Regions from separate parts of the Homo sapiens genome. Here all the other regions are linked to region 1. The links are contacts of gene promoters, found by promoter capture Hi-C in blood cells and fetal thymus (Javierre and others, 2016). All regions are on one chromosome and are shown on one strand. Each heading gives the region's core, a stretch centred on a gene start or on the middle of the fragment in contact. The rest is flanking DNA. Distances are from core to core; before and after follow the strand shown.

What was found. The method cuts DNA at HindIII sites, captures the fragments that hold promoters and counts their contacts. A CHiCAGO score of 5 or more calls a contact.
Region 2: a fragment that was not itself captured here is called in contact with the fragment with the promoter of TNPO1 in region 1 in 6 of 17 cell types (activated CD4 T cells, monocytes, naive CD4 T cells and 3 more); the score reaches 7.0 in activated CD4 T cells.
Region 3: a contact is called between a fragment that was not itself captured here and the fragment with the promoter of TNPO1 in region 1, in 1 of 17 cell types (M0 macrophages). The highest score is 6.1, in M0 macrophages.

The regions. Positions count from the first base shown.
Region 1 is chr5:72,814,293-72,818,271 of GRCh38, reverse strand. TNPO1 (transportin 1) reads right to left here and starts at 1,611. Exons shown (of 25, transcript NM_002270.4): 1 at 1,520-1,611. The coding sequence starts at 1,534. It overlaps TNPO1-DT (TNPO1 divergent transcript), which reads left to right and starts at 1,724. Exons shown (of 9, transcript NR_186518.1): 1 at 1,724-2,119. RefSeq lists enhancers at 835-884, 1,965-2,044 and silencers at 1,345-1,564, 1,605-1,704. The HindIII fragment of the contact is 3,194 bases long and covers 631-3,824 here.
Region 2 is chr5:72,302,107-72,306,210 of GRCh38, reverse strand. All of the region lies in intron 2 of MRPS27 (mitochondrial ribosomal protein S27), which reads left to right. Among named protein-coding and RNA genes, the nearest start is that of MRPS27, 16 kb to the left of the region's middle. RefSeq lists an enhancer at 3,924-4,104. The HindIII fragment of the contact is 2,331 bases long and covers 1,080-3,410 here.
Region 3 is chr5:72,280,960-72,285,315 of GRCh38, reverse strand. The region is part of intron 4 of MRPS27 (mitochondrial ribosomal protein S27); the gene reads left to right. It overlaps LOC107986422 (a long non-coding RNA gene), which reads left to right. Exons shown (of 2, transcript XR_001742742.2): 2 at 1,658-4,356. Among named protein-coding and RNA genes, the nearest start is that of MRPS27, 37 kb to the left of the region's middle. The HindIII fragment of the contact is 1,413 bases long and covers 1,610-3,022 here.

The DNA.
Region 1 (3,979 bases), core at 362-2,861:
AGAGTTGAGGTAGAAGTGCAAACAAGATTTTTATAGATATTTCAGTGGGAGGAATTTAATAATTCCTGACTAGGAGAAAGATGCAGCCACATCAAGGGTGGCGGCCCCTTTTAGGAAAAAGAAAACAGAACACTAGTACTTCATTAGGCTCACGTTAAATTGCATGAAGTAAAAATCGTACTGCCAAGCTAGTATAAATTTATGCACTGCATAGCTAGAGACTAAAAAAGATATCTGCACCTACAAACTATTGTTTCCCTTTTGTGGTTGCTAATTTTCATCCTGGCACAGCCTTCTCTAGGAACAACTACGGTGCCAGGTAAGGTGAAAGTGGAAAACAGATCCTTTCCCAAAAAACGGAACTTTCCCCTTTTCCACTAAACATAGCTTCTTCACCACTCTAACATGAAAGCTTTGATATAACAGGGAAACTTAAAAAGCTGCAGGAACTTTTGTTATTCTAAAAGTGAGTAGTACGTCAGGACAGCCATTTTACAACCTTCATTTCCAAACACCTATTACACCATACATCTTGCAATTTTAAAAGTATCTTTTCTTTAGGGTAAAAAAAGTACCACTTACACATTCATCATTTAAGTCATTACTGTTTCAAAGGACAGTTATTAAGCTTCTTAATACAGCTGTCAAAATCAATTTGTAGATAGCCTCCAATTTCAAATTTCTACATTTACATCTACTGATAGACCATCCTGATTAGCGATTAAGATAACAGACTTAAACTCTAAGCAATCCTTGCAAAATCCAGTTGATTTTTAAAATCAGTAAGCAACACGCGATCATTTTTAAAGAAAGTCATTCCGAAAATAGCTTGATTGTGGTGGCCAATCTGCTCCTCAGCAGCTGTTCCCTGTTGCTTGTACGCATGGGAGTGGAGGTAGAAGGGCAAAACCCACAAGCCCACGCAAAACTCGTACAGTCACAAACATTATGTAAACATGTCGTGAGGCCAAGAGGCCCCAAGGAGAAAGAACCGCCGGGAGGAAGAGAACGGCAAGCTGCATGTAAGGACGATGGGCGCTGTGTGCGGACGCAGGAGACCCGGGCAGAGGGGCCCAGGGCGGGACAAAGACTGGCCCATCTCGGGCAGCGCCGGCCAGCGCCCAGAACCAGTGAAAGGCAGCCGTCCCGGGGCAGCCGACTGCAGCACTCAAGGGCCCTCAAACGCCACAGCTTAACAGGCGAGGCAAACGCTCCCCTGAATGTAAGACCCTTCCCTTCCCGCCCCTTGTAACGGGCTCCTGCCGCCCCTAACGGGATCCTCGGACGCTTGAGGAGCCGCCGTCGCCTGCTCCCTACCCGGGTCCCGCAGGGCGCCTGGGCGGGCAGCTGTTGGGGTTAGAACCGCGCCGCCGCTGCCTCTCGGCTTCAAACGGCCGGGCAGGCGCCGAGAGAGCGGGCGAGCCCGGCGTCTCTCCCGTAGGCGCGTCAGGCAGCTCGGCGCTCCCAGCCTCCGTTCCCGCCCCTGCAGTTCGGGGCCGCGCACCCTCACGCCACCTACCCGGTCCCACACCATCCCAGACGCCTCGGGCGCTCGGGCCTTCGGCCGAAGCGGCACTGCCTCCTGTCCGGGGCCTGAAATGGCTGCGGAACAAAGAGAATCTGGGCTTCACCGAGCGCCGGTCCGATTGGCCGGGGGGCGGAGCCCGCGGCGGGAACATTCGGCGGCGGTCGCCTTGGCAACGGCGGCGGGGCTAGGAAAATTGCTGCCTGGGTCGGCTGGGCCTGTGGGCCTGCGTCCGACAGCGCGCGGCCGTGCTTTCTAAGCGGGCTCGGCAGCACCAGACTTCACCGGCCCGGCGCGGGGCTCACAAGTGCTCGCACTCCCTGCGGCCGGCGCGCTGACCGGAGCCTCTGGGTCTCGCACGCAGCAGCTGCAGACGCTGCCCGGCGCGGTGGGGCTGTGAGCAAAACGGCCCGCCGGTGTGGTTGCCCAGACTGTGCTGGGCCCTCCTAGGTGGATGGCCCTGCCCCAGCCTAACTTCTGTACCCCAGCATAACCTCCAAAGTAACAGCCGTGCCCTGGGAGCCTGTTCAACACTGAACATATCCCACAATAACACTGTTCCAGCGTCGCTGGTAAAAAGCAGAAATGGCTTCGGTAGGTAGACGCCGGTGGATGGCTGCCCGCTTAGAACAAGATAGGCTTTTGACGTATGTTGTATCTGGCGTATAAACTACTATGTAATTAGAATTCAGTGATTTATAAAATGTTTACGCCTCCAGGTGTTCAATCCTATAAAACTGTAGTTTCTTGCTCTTAGAAATAACAAGCCTTTCTCTCCCTAACCTGCCATCATGAGAAATTAAAATGTCCTGTATTTTCTGTACGGCAAATGATTCAAAATGGGAGTGGTGGACGTTTTTATACCCAACTGCAACAAGGGTAATGAGATAAATATCAGTTTCCTTCCCTCAGATTATTCTTATATGTAAAATTTACTGTATAAAAATACTTAAAATTTGCATAGCTAGCTGATTTTTATTTTCTAAGGTGATGATGCCCGTGATAATATTCCTCACATGATCAGTGTGAGTAGAAATACCAGCAGTTCCGACTATCTTACTGGAAGTGCTGTATATATTTTGAAAATGTGTGACAGTTGTTGCCTTCCTGTCATAGTTTAGGTAAAATTACAGTACATAATACTAGAAAATGTCTAAATTTTTACTAAGGTAATTTATTTGTTCTTCTAAACGTGTTAACAATTTTCATTTGAATTACAGTCATTTTGCAGGAACAACTAGTTTATTTAACTTAAAATTTGAGACTAAAAGTACCATTTTTTAATCATTGGGAAATTGAACTTAGCAAGGGAAAATATAGATAACTAAAATATTCATGATTTCAACATGTTATAATATTAATTTGATAGTAATTGGATACAGTAGTGTATATCAAAAAGAGCCCCCCCCCCCAAATAGGAGTAGATTACCAAGAAAAAAATGTAATATAAACTTTTCTGAATGGTAGTTTATCTGCAGGAAAATATACCCAGAAAAAGTATATTTATCCAAATAACAAATGGCTTATTTCTGCATTTGAAAAGTTACATCGTGGACTAGGATCTATACAAATCAGAAGATGTGTAGTATTTGCATTCTACTTTGCTAAAGGAAAAAACACAAATATTTCTAAAATCCAAAAGATTAGCAAATAATGACAGATGTAAATACTACTGACTAAGCAATTAGTAGGAGTTCACTTGATTAATAGTTTGGAAATAGCTGAAATGAATTGAAGAAAAAGTAACATATTATTTAGCATAAGAGGATTTATTGGCCAAAACATTTTGAAAGAAAAAAATGTTGATTATCAGATGTTGTAAAATTGAGATTAAGCAAATTAAATATGTATTCTTTTGTAAAAATTAAAGTGAATGAAAATACTAATATAAAATAGTTCTGTTGAATAGAGATTCTTACACATGTAGCCTTTTTGTCTCTTCTAGGTCAAATTAAAAAAACATGTTTTAAACAGTAAATCTTATTAACAAGGATTTATTAACATGGCTTATTTTATTTTTCTTTGACAGTTTGCACATATAATAGCAGCTATCCAGTAGTATTTTCTCTTTATACCTAAATATGCTCATGTGGTAAAACTTTGAAGAATTATTAATAATTTTTAAATGACAAAAATGAAGTTAAAATTTATAAACTTTGTTTTTACCTTTAAAACATAGATATATTTAAAATTTCTGTATTAATTTTATTTTCTTAGGTGAAAAATTTACCAAGATAAAAATAAAAACATGTTAGAAGTTACAAAATAGCATCTGAGGGAGAAAACATACCTATAAGCTTTCACCTAGGAATGACAAGATGCTTATTTTGTCAGGTGTAGCATTGTTAAAACAAGTGTGGAGCTTGCAGGCAGAGGACCTATATGCAGATGCTGGCTTTACCATTTATGAATGCTTTTGGCTCAGTCTTTCTGAGCTTCACTTTCTTTTGTCTG
Region 2 (4,104 bases), core at 996-3,495, 510 kb after region 1:
TTATGACAGAACTTCCATTCATCAACAGTTTACTTACCCTGAAATAGTTTGTATATGAGTTAGCTTTCAAAATAACTTGCAAAAATGATGAATGAGGACTTCTTAAAATGTCATTAAGAACTCATAGATTTAAATAATTGAGACATTTTAATCCATTGCTGTTGATACTTTTATTGATAGGGCCATAGTTCAACTGTGCTCTGTAGAGCCCTGGGCTTTCCTACTTCAATCAGATTTCAACTTTTGATTGTTTCTGTACTGGGCTTCCCTTTGGCTAAAATAAACACTGAGTTAAAGCATTGTCTCTGGAATTCCTCCACTAACTTGCTGATTTGTTGGGGAGGTACAGGGTAAAAGTTATCAACATTTACTAGTTAACAGAATAGGATCCACTGTGAACAGGACTCAGGAGAAAACCACTGGGGAACTGGGTAGGGTGTTGGTAGGAGGGCAGGCCTCATGGGGAAGCTCCTTGAGTTCCATGAGAGGAAGTTTTCTTGAGTCTTTCTGACAAGGAGCGAGCACTCAGGTGACTTGAGCTGAATTCAGGATTCATGAGCCCTACTGGATTAAATATTTTATTTGTGATTTTTCACATCACAAAGTATAGGACACATTTTGGTTTGGGTTACTGTTTTGCTTGTTTGTGTTGGTTTCTCTTGGTTTGTTGGTTTGTTTTCTGTTGGTTTGTTTTTGGAGAACCTCCTTTTTGAATCCAAAGAGTATTTCCTTGACACATTTGCATTCAGGTCTGTCTCTTACAGACACTTCTTCCATTTTAGCTGAGATTTAGTTTTGCTGTGTCATTTCAGCTGTAGAGGCCTTTGGCTTTTTGCATGAATATTTCAGATCCTGCTCTTGAGGCCTGATGGAGATTTTCTGAAGTCTGCTTTCTTAACTTTTGTCAGTTCTGTATTTGCATCTCTGTGGCATCTATTCATTTTCCAGTTTCCATATTTGCCAAGTTCTAGAGATGGGTCTGACTTGTGCACATCACCGTTCTTTAGTCTCATTAATATATATGTACACAAAGCTTGATTTCATGTTTTTCCTTTATTGGATTTATTTATGTTAAAGCTTCTGGTGACAGACAAATAGAAGGAAGTCTAAAAATCTATGTCCAAATTGGTTGCTAGGCTAGTTTTCCATACTTCCTTCTGTATATTCAATGCATGATATATGTCATGTGTCCTCGTTTTTCTTTTAAAATGTGGGAAACAAAAACAGTTTCAGCCTGTATTTTTCAAGATCAGTTCTTCTAGGAAGGACAATAATAATCTGTACCTGTTTCTTTATTATATAAATTAGGTAAGGTATGCAGATGACCATAAGCCCAGAAAGAGTTTAGTGTTGCCTGAAAGGTTAACAGTAATGTGCAGTTATGTAGAAAAGAAAAACTGAAACCATTTCTCACCTGAAGCTAGAAGGATTCAATAAAGGATTCATATTTTTCTTCAGTGACCTTCATTATCACAACTTTGCCCCAGAGACCACACTCTTTTTTAAGAGGCTTGTTTTTCAACACATCTGTACTACAGATTTTGTGGTTATGTACTGTGAAGCTGTGTTACTTTGGTGTGCACCAGGTTAAAATTATCTTGGCAAAATGAATTTTTGGTCATTATGTAGTGACCCACATAATCTATAAAACTGCTTTTTGCCTGTAATCTATTGTGTCTGATATTAATACAACTGTACCAGCTTTATTTTGGCTTCCTAGTGTGTTTTTAATAATTTTCAACTCTTCTGTGTTTATATGATTTATATAGCTAGCTTTTATATTTTTAACCAATCTGACAATCATTATCTTTTAACTAGAAAATTTCGTCTATTTACATTATCATTTCATGATTACCAATATAATTGGATTTATTTCTGTCACATTTTGTGATTGGTTTCATCTTTCTTTTTTTTCTTTATTTTTTATTTTTGGATTGATTTTTACTTTTGGATTGTTTTTGTTTTTTACGTTTTTTTCCCCTCCACTGGTCTGGAGATTATATCCTCTACTTTTTTAGAGATTGTTGCCCTTTAACTTCTAAAATGCATATCTAGCTTAAATTGTAATGCTCATCACACTCTACTATCCTTTAGGACACCTTAGGTCCACACACACACATCTAACCATATGCTCTTGTCTAATAATAAAGTTTTATCCTTTAAAACACATATAACATTATTTTAAACAGTCAGTTCCCCCCCAATTTAACCAATTTTATTGAGTTCTAAAAATTTCCTTTAGTATTTGTTGCTAATACATTTTCTGTTTTTGTTTGTCCAAAAATGTCTTCATTTCGCCCTTATCTTTTTTTTTTTTTTTTTTTTTTTGAGATGAGGTCTTGCTGTGTTGCCCACACTGGCCTCCAACTCCTGGGCTTAAGTGATCCTCCCACCTCAGCCTCCTGAGTAGCTGGGTCTACAAGCACATGCCAGCATACCCATATTTTGCCCTTATTTTTTAAAGATAATCTTGCTAGATATGCAATTTTAGGTTGATAGTTTATACTTGCAACATTTTGAACATTTTATTCTATTTTCTGGATTTTATCATTCCTATTGAGAAAACACCTGTTAGTATAGTTGTTTCTTTCTTTGTAATTTCTCTTTTCTTTCTGGCCACTTTTGAGATCCTCTCATTCATCGTTTTTGAAATAATAATTTTACTTTTTTGACTTGAGATTGTATACATATCCTGAATCTAGAAACCTATATTTTTTATCAATTCTAAAAAATTCTCATCATTGTCTCATCATACATTCTTATTCATATTTCTATATCTTTGCTCTTTTACAGTTCTCATTTTTATCTTTGCAGCATTCTGTGTAATTATCTGCCTTTCAGTTCACTCTCACTTCACCTGTGTCTAACCTGCTTTTTAACTTATTCATTGTTTACTTTTTACAGCTTTGATGAGGTATTCTTCACATAAAATAAACTATGTATATTTAAATGTACAATTTGATCAGTTTTGACCAATGTACAGGTGTATATGTCCATAAAGTCATCTCCATGATCAAGATAATGAGCATATGTGTCACCTGCCAAAGTTTTCTCCTATTCTTTAACCCTTTTCTCCTTCCGCTTCTGGCCCTATACCCCAAATTCCCAGGCAACCATGGATATGCTTTTTTGTTTCTATAGAATAGTTCACAATTTTTAGAATTTTATATAGTGAAGTCAACTCTTCAAACAAAATTCTCAGCTTGGTATATTTTGGATCACAAAAGAAGAGTGGATTAAATCCCCAAAGAGGCATGAGGGCTGACTTGTAGTTTATAATCTTCAGGGGACAAGTGTCCCGGTTGTTTACTTTTTAGGGTGCATTATTGTAGTGATAAGTTTTACCTTTTCACTTCAGGTGTAGTTCCCTTAGGTGGTCCTGGCTTTACCTGAGGATCTCTGAACAAGCTTCTCATCTTACAAGTATTGGTTTTATCCTCTGTCCCCATAAGTCACTGAAACTAAAGCTCTCCATCACTGTAGATCATCACATGCTCTCAAAAGGACTGCTCCCCTCAAAGGGACTGCTCCTCTAAACACTCCAAGTTCATGTTTCCATCTTGCCTTTGGCCTCTGACAGTTACATCTACCTTCTTGAAAGCTCAGTCATATATTTGGGGGAAAATTGATATTTTGTTTTATTTTTATAGTAGGAGGAATTTTTTAAAGATATTTAATTCATTTTATTCCAGCAATGGAATTCCTATTCAGTATCTTCTTTGAGCTTAGGAGCAACATCTAAGACTTCTTTTGTGTTCCCTCCCATGGTTGCTCCCAAACATAACTGACGTGCTTGATTGGCTACAATCTTCTGGGGCTATTGTTTAAGTCTCTCGTGCTACCTCAAACCCAGGGAATTAGAGTCTCCCTCTGGGTGAAAAGAATCCTAGGAATCTGAAGTTTTAAAGCCCCTCAGGCAATCTGAATCCTCACCCAGGCTTGTGGGCCATTGCACTCTTACTGGGAATAGTGCAGGGTTCTCAATACAATCTTGTATATTCTGAGATCGTTAATAGTATTGCTTTCTTCAAATGGGAAGGGCATTTTTAGTATACATTTTATTTTCTGGACATACTTCCACATTGTCTGTCTAGCTTCAAGTTT
Region 3 (4,356 bases), core at 1,067-3,566, 530 kb after region 1:
AAGATAGCCTTGAAGGTTAGATGAGTAGAGGAAACAGGAGCAAGTGTTCAAGATGGAACAAATCGTACAGCTGGAGTTAGAAGGAGGAAGTGAGAACTAGCTTTATGGAAACTGCCTTAACCAGAGAGATCAGGGTTTGTTGGGGAATAATGAGAAATAAGGAAGGCAGATTAGAGAGGGAATAGAATGTTGGCAGGAGAGAAGGGAGGGTTCAAAATCTGTCATTATCATACATTGCTAGTGGATATATAAATCGGTACAACTTGTATAGATAGAACTTTGGCAGCATCTGTCAAAATTATAAGTACAATACCCTCTGGCCCAATAATTCCACCTCTAGGAATTTAACCTCCTGATACACTCATATTCATGCCAAAAATGTCCATTGCAAAAAGTAAAAGATTACGTCCATCAATAGAAGCCTGTTTAATTATTCTACAGCTGTACAGTGGAATACTGTGCAGTGATTGAAAAGAATGAGGAAGCTTTATTTGTATTTCCTATTGAATAAATTGTGAAATGTATTAAGTGAAAAAAACAAGAGTAGGACTTAGTGTGTGATGTAGCCACTGTGGTTTATGTGTAATATGTATACATGTGCTTTGATGCTTATGTGTATATATGTATGTGTGTACATAAAATATCTCTGGAATGATACACACAAAAACTGGTAACATTGGTTTCTTTTAGGGAAGAAACCTGGATGACTTCTCATTGAATTGTCTCTTGTAACTTTTGAATTTTATATCATGGGTGTATATTACTTATTCAAAAAATACATATTTTTCATTTCTTCCCTTCCCTTCCCTCCCCCCTTCTCTTTTTCCATCTCTCTCTCTCACACACACACACAGAAGGAAATTAACCAAATTTTTTTTTTTTTTTTAATTTAAAGACAGGGTCTCACTCTGTTGCCCAGGCTGGCATGCAGTGGCAGGATCTTAGCTCACTGTACCCTCAACTTCCCAGGCTCAGGCAATTGTCCTACCTCAGCCTCCCAGGTAGCTAGGACTTTAGGCGTATGCCACCATGCCTGGCCTTTTTGGTGGTGTTTTTTTTTTTTTTTTTAGAGATGGGGTCTCACAATGTTGCCCAGGCTGGTCTTGAACTCCTGGACTCAAGCAATCCACCTGCCTCGGCCTCCCAAAGTGCTGGGATTATAGGCATGAGCCACCACACCTAGCCTGAAAAAATATTTTTTAAAAGATCCTCAAGATAGTCATCTGCAGATTCTTAAGAAGTATATATCATAATAAAAGTATTTCAGAAAGATTTATAACAGGGTAAATTTTTTATTAAAATTGGTAAATGTTATAAGGAAATTGTCTATGCATATAGAGAAAAAAGACCTGTCCTGTGGTAGTAGACAGTGGAAATAAAGAGAGAAATGTACATAGGAGGGAAAAAATTGGATCAGCAGGATTAATGGCAGGTTGAATGTAGAGACAGAAAACAAGGAGAGTCAAAAATGAACTGAAAATTGAACCTCAGTGGGAAAGTGGCTTGTACATGATAGAAGTATTGAATTGGAAGCAGATTTAGAAGGCAGCAAGAGGGTGAGTTTTTCTTTTGCCTTTTTTTTTTGTACGTACACATTTCTTTCTAAGCTTGCTGGATCATATCTTGCCTACTTGACCATACTTGGACTGTTTGACAGGAACTGGCCACAGACCTTTGGAGAAAGAACAATTGCCAAAACATACCCATTGGGTCTTCCTGGTGTATTGGCACTAGTTGGAAAATTTTAGACCAGATGACCTCTGAAGTCCTGCCAACTTCCGGAATCTGAAATTGCAACCTGGATAGACTAAGTGAGTCCCTTGGAGCCATGTGACAAGTCCAAGCTCCAGCTGTGGATGAGGCCTGACTTCAAGTTCAGAAGCTCATCAGCTAGCCCAGTGTATCTCTTTGTGTCAGTTTTTTTTCCTAAGCAGTTTCAGTAATATACCAAAAGATACAGACTCAATGAACATTTTGAAACCTCCTAACAGTGTGACATAGAATTAATTAAACCTAGAAAAAAATTAACATAAAAAGAAATTCAACAATGAAAATGTATTATCTTGTGGGGGAGGTACTAAAAAGACCCTGAAGGAGTCAGGATGGGAAGAAAGAGGTGACTGGGGTCTTAGGACCAGTTTAGTCCCCACTTTGATCTGTAGCTTTGAACTAGTTAGTGAACTCTCTGGACATCAGCTTTCTAGATGAGCAGATCATCTTGGATGCCTCCCAAGGCACTTCCCATAGCTAAAACATAATGTTTCTTAATGTCACTGATAAGATTTTATCACCAGATGCCTCAGACTTTGAAAGCATGTAGCTCTGGCTTTTTGTTTAGTTTCTCACGCAGAATTTTATTCACTTTAAAATTGAAGTTCCAGCCGCCTTAACTATGAATATCAAGAGAAAAACTAATAGATGTAAAAGTAAACAACAGAAAGGGTAGAAGATCTCTTATTCTCTTCTGGATTTAGGTGACAGACTTCATTTACTATCTTGTTTGTGAATATATTTAGTAAATTTTGTGGTATGAGAAGTTGGGTATCCACTCTTATTTATCCTCTAGGTAACTAATTTTTATACATATGTACTTGCCTTTTTCCTGCAAGGCCCACAAACCACATGTTTTTGATGCCTTGTATATACATGAGATTTAAAAGGAGAAGGCTAAAGTAAATCTGTTCTAATAGCTACAGAACCATTTGTAAATTAAACCTTAAACTCCTAAAATTTCACATAAGAATATGTATCCAAGTTCTTTTTTTTCTACAGTATAAACCCCTTTTATTGAAAAATATTTCTCCTGCCTATTTTTATAATTGTAAAGTCAAATTAAGGTACCAGGAATTATAGCTACAGGGCAATGAGAAAGGCATAACTAAAATATAGTTTTATATTTATTATATAAACCCTACTTCAGTAGGGTTTTAAGTGTAACGCAGTTTGATTTGAAAATAATTAAGAGATCGTTTCAGAAACTGGTATAATATTTAAGGGAGAGCTGAGTAGATAAACAGAAGCTTCAAGGAGAGATTTATGGGAACAGAAGTTTCAGTTGATTGCATCATGGTTTTTGAGGCCAAAGGCAAATAAATTCCTGAGTATTTCCAGATGCTGTGTGTCTAGGCAAGAGGACATCTGAGGAGCTAGAAGTATTTGATGTGAATTCTGTTTAGTGGTCTAGGCTGCTTTCATTTTCATGATAGATTTCCAGGTATGTTTGTTTTGAACAGGCAGATTTTACATTTTGAGGTCTATTCTGTTTTTTTAATAGCAATGCTGATTTTAAGACAAATAGTATCACCATTTTATACCTAGTAATAGGCAAAGCTGGGACTTAAAACTAGGTCTTCCAACACCAGATCATTACAGCACATGAACAGTGTATTCATTATGCACTGGCTGTTACATAGTTCAGTGATGGACACTACCAAGAGGTGAAACTCAATCATTAGTCTTCATTGGTAAAAATCTTGGCAGAGTTTTGATAAGTCAAACACTGAAATTATGTGTTCAAGTGAGAACTTTGTGCATCTCATACGTATAGATTAGTATAGTCCTCCATTTGCTGAATAATAGCAGGTAATAACAGACTTACACACTTACACAGTGCTTTCAGACTCCAGTTGGAATGGACTACTGTTCTCTGAATGTGCCTTCTACTTTCATATCTTGCCTATGCTCTTCCCTCCCCACTGTCTCTTTCTAACAGAATACAGCCTGTGTTTTAAGGCCTGTCCCAAATTCTGCTACACTCATAAACTTACCCTGATTTTCACGGTTGAATGTGATCTCTCTGACCCATCTATAAAATTTTGTTTTACCTATTCAGGGGTGCTTACTTATTTTGTTTTGTCTTCTGTCAAAAATATTTCTTTCTTTCTCTTTACCTGAGACACAGTATAGTATAGTAGACAAGAGTATGGACTTGAGCCAGAGTGCCTGGATTTGAATGTCGAATGTGCCATCCATTTCCTCCCTCATAAAATGAGTGTTAAAATAGTGCCTGTGCTTTAGGGTATTTATGAGACTCCAAGAAATTGATAACGTTATAATGCCCTTAGAACAGTCTTGGGACAAAGAAGGTCAGTGCTCAATAAAATTTAGCTTTAATGTTGACTATACTAGATTGTAACATCGGGAGAAGCAAGGAGTATTTATTTCCCATACTTCTCTCTTATGGGAAAATGTATTTGATTTCTGGTTTAGGTTTCCCTAACCATCCGCACCACCCCTGCCCCAAGGGCATCAAGGTGTAAGGGCCATCAAGGCTCAGGAATGTGGAGAAGTAGATGCTTAGGAACACTAGTAGTTCAACACACATTTAGAAAGGATATCACATTTTGGGGGAAGCTT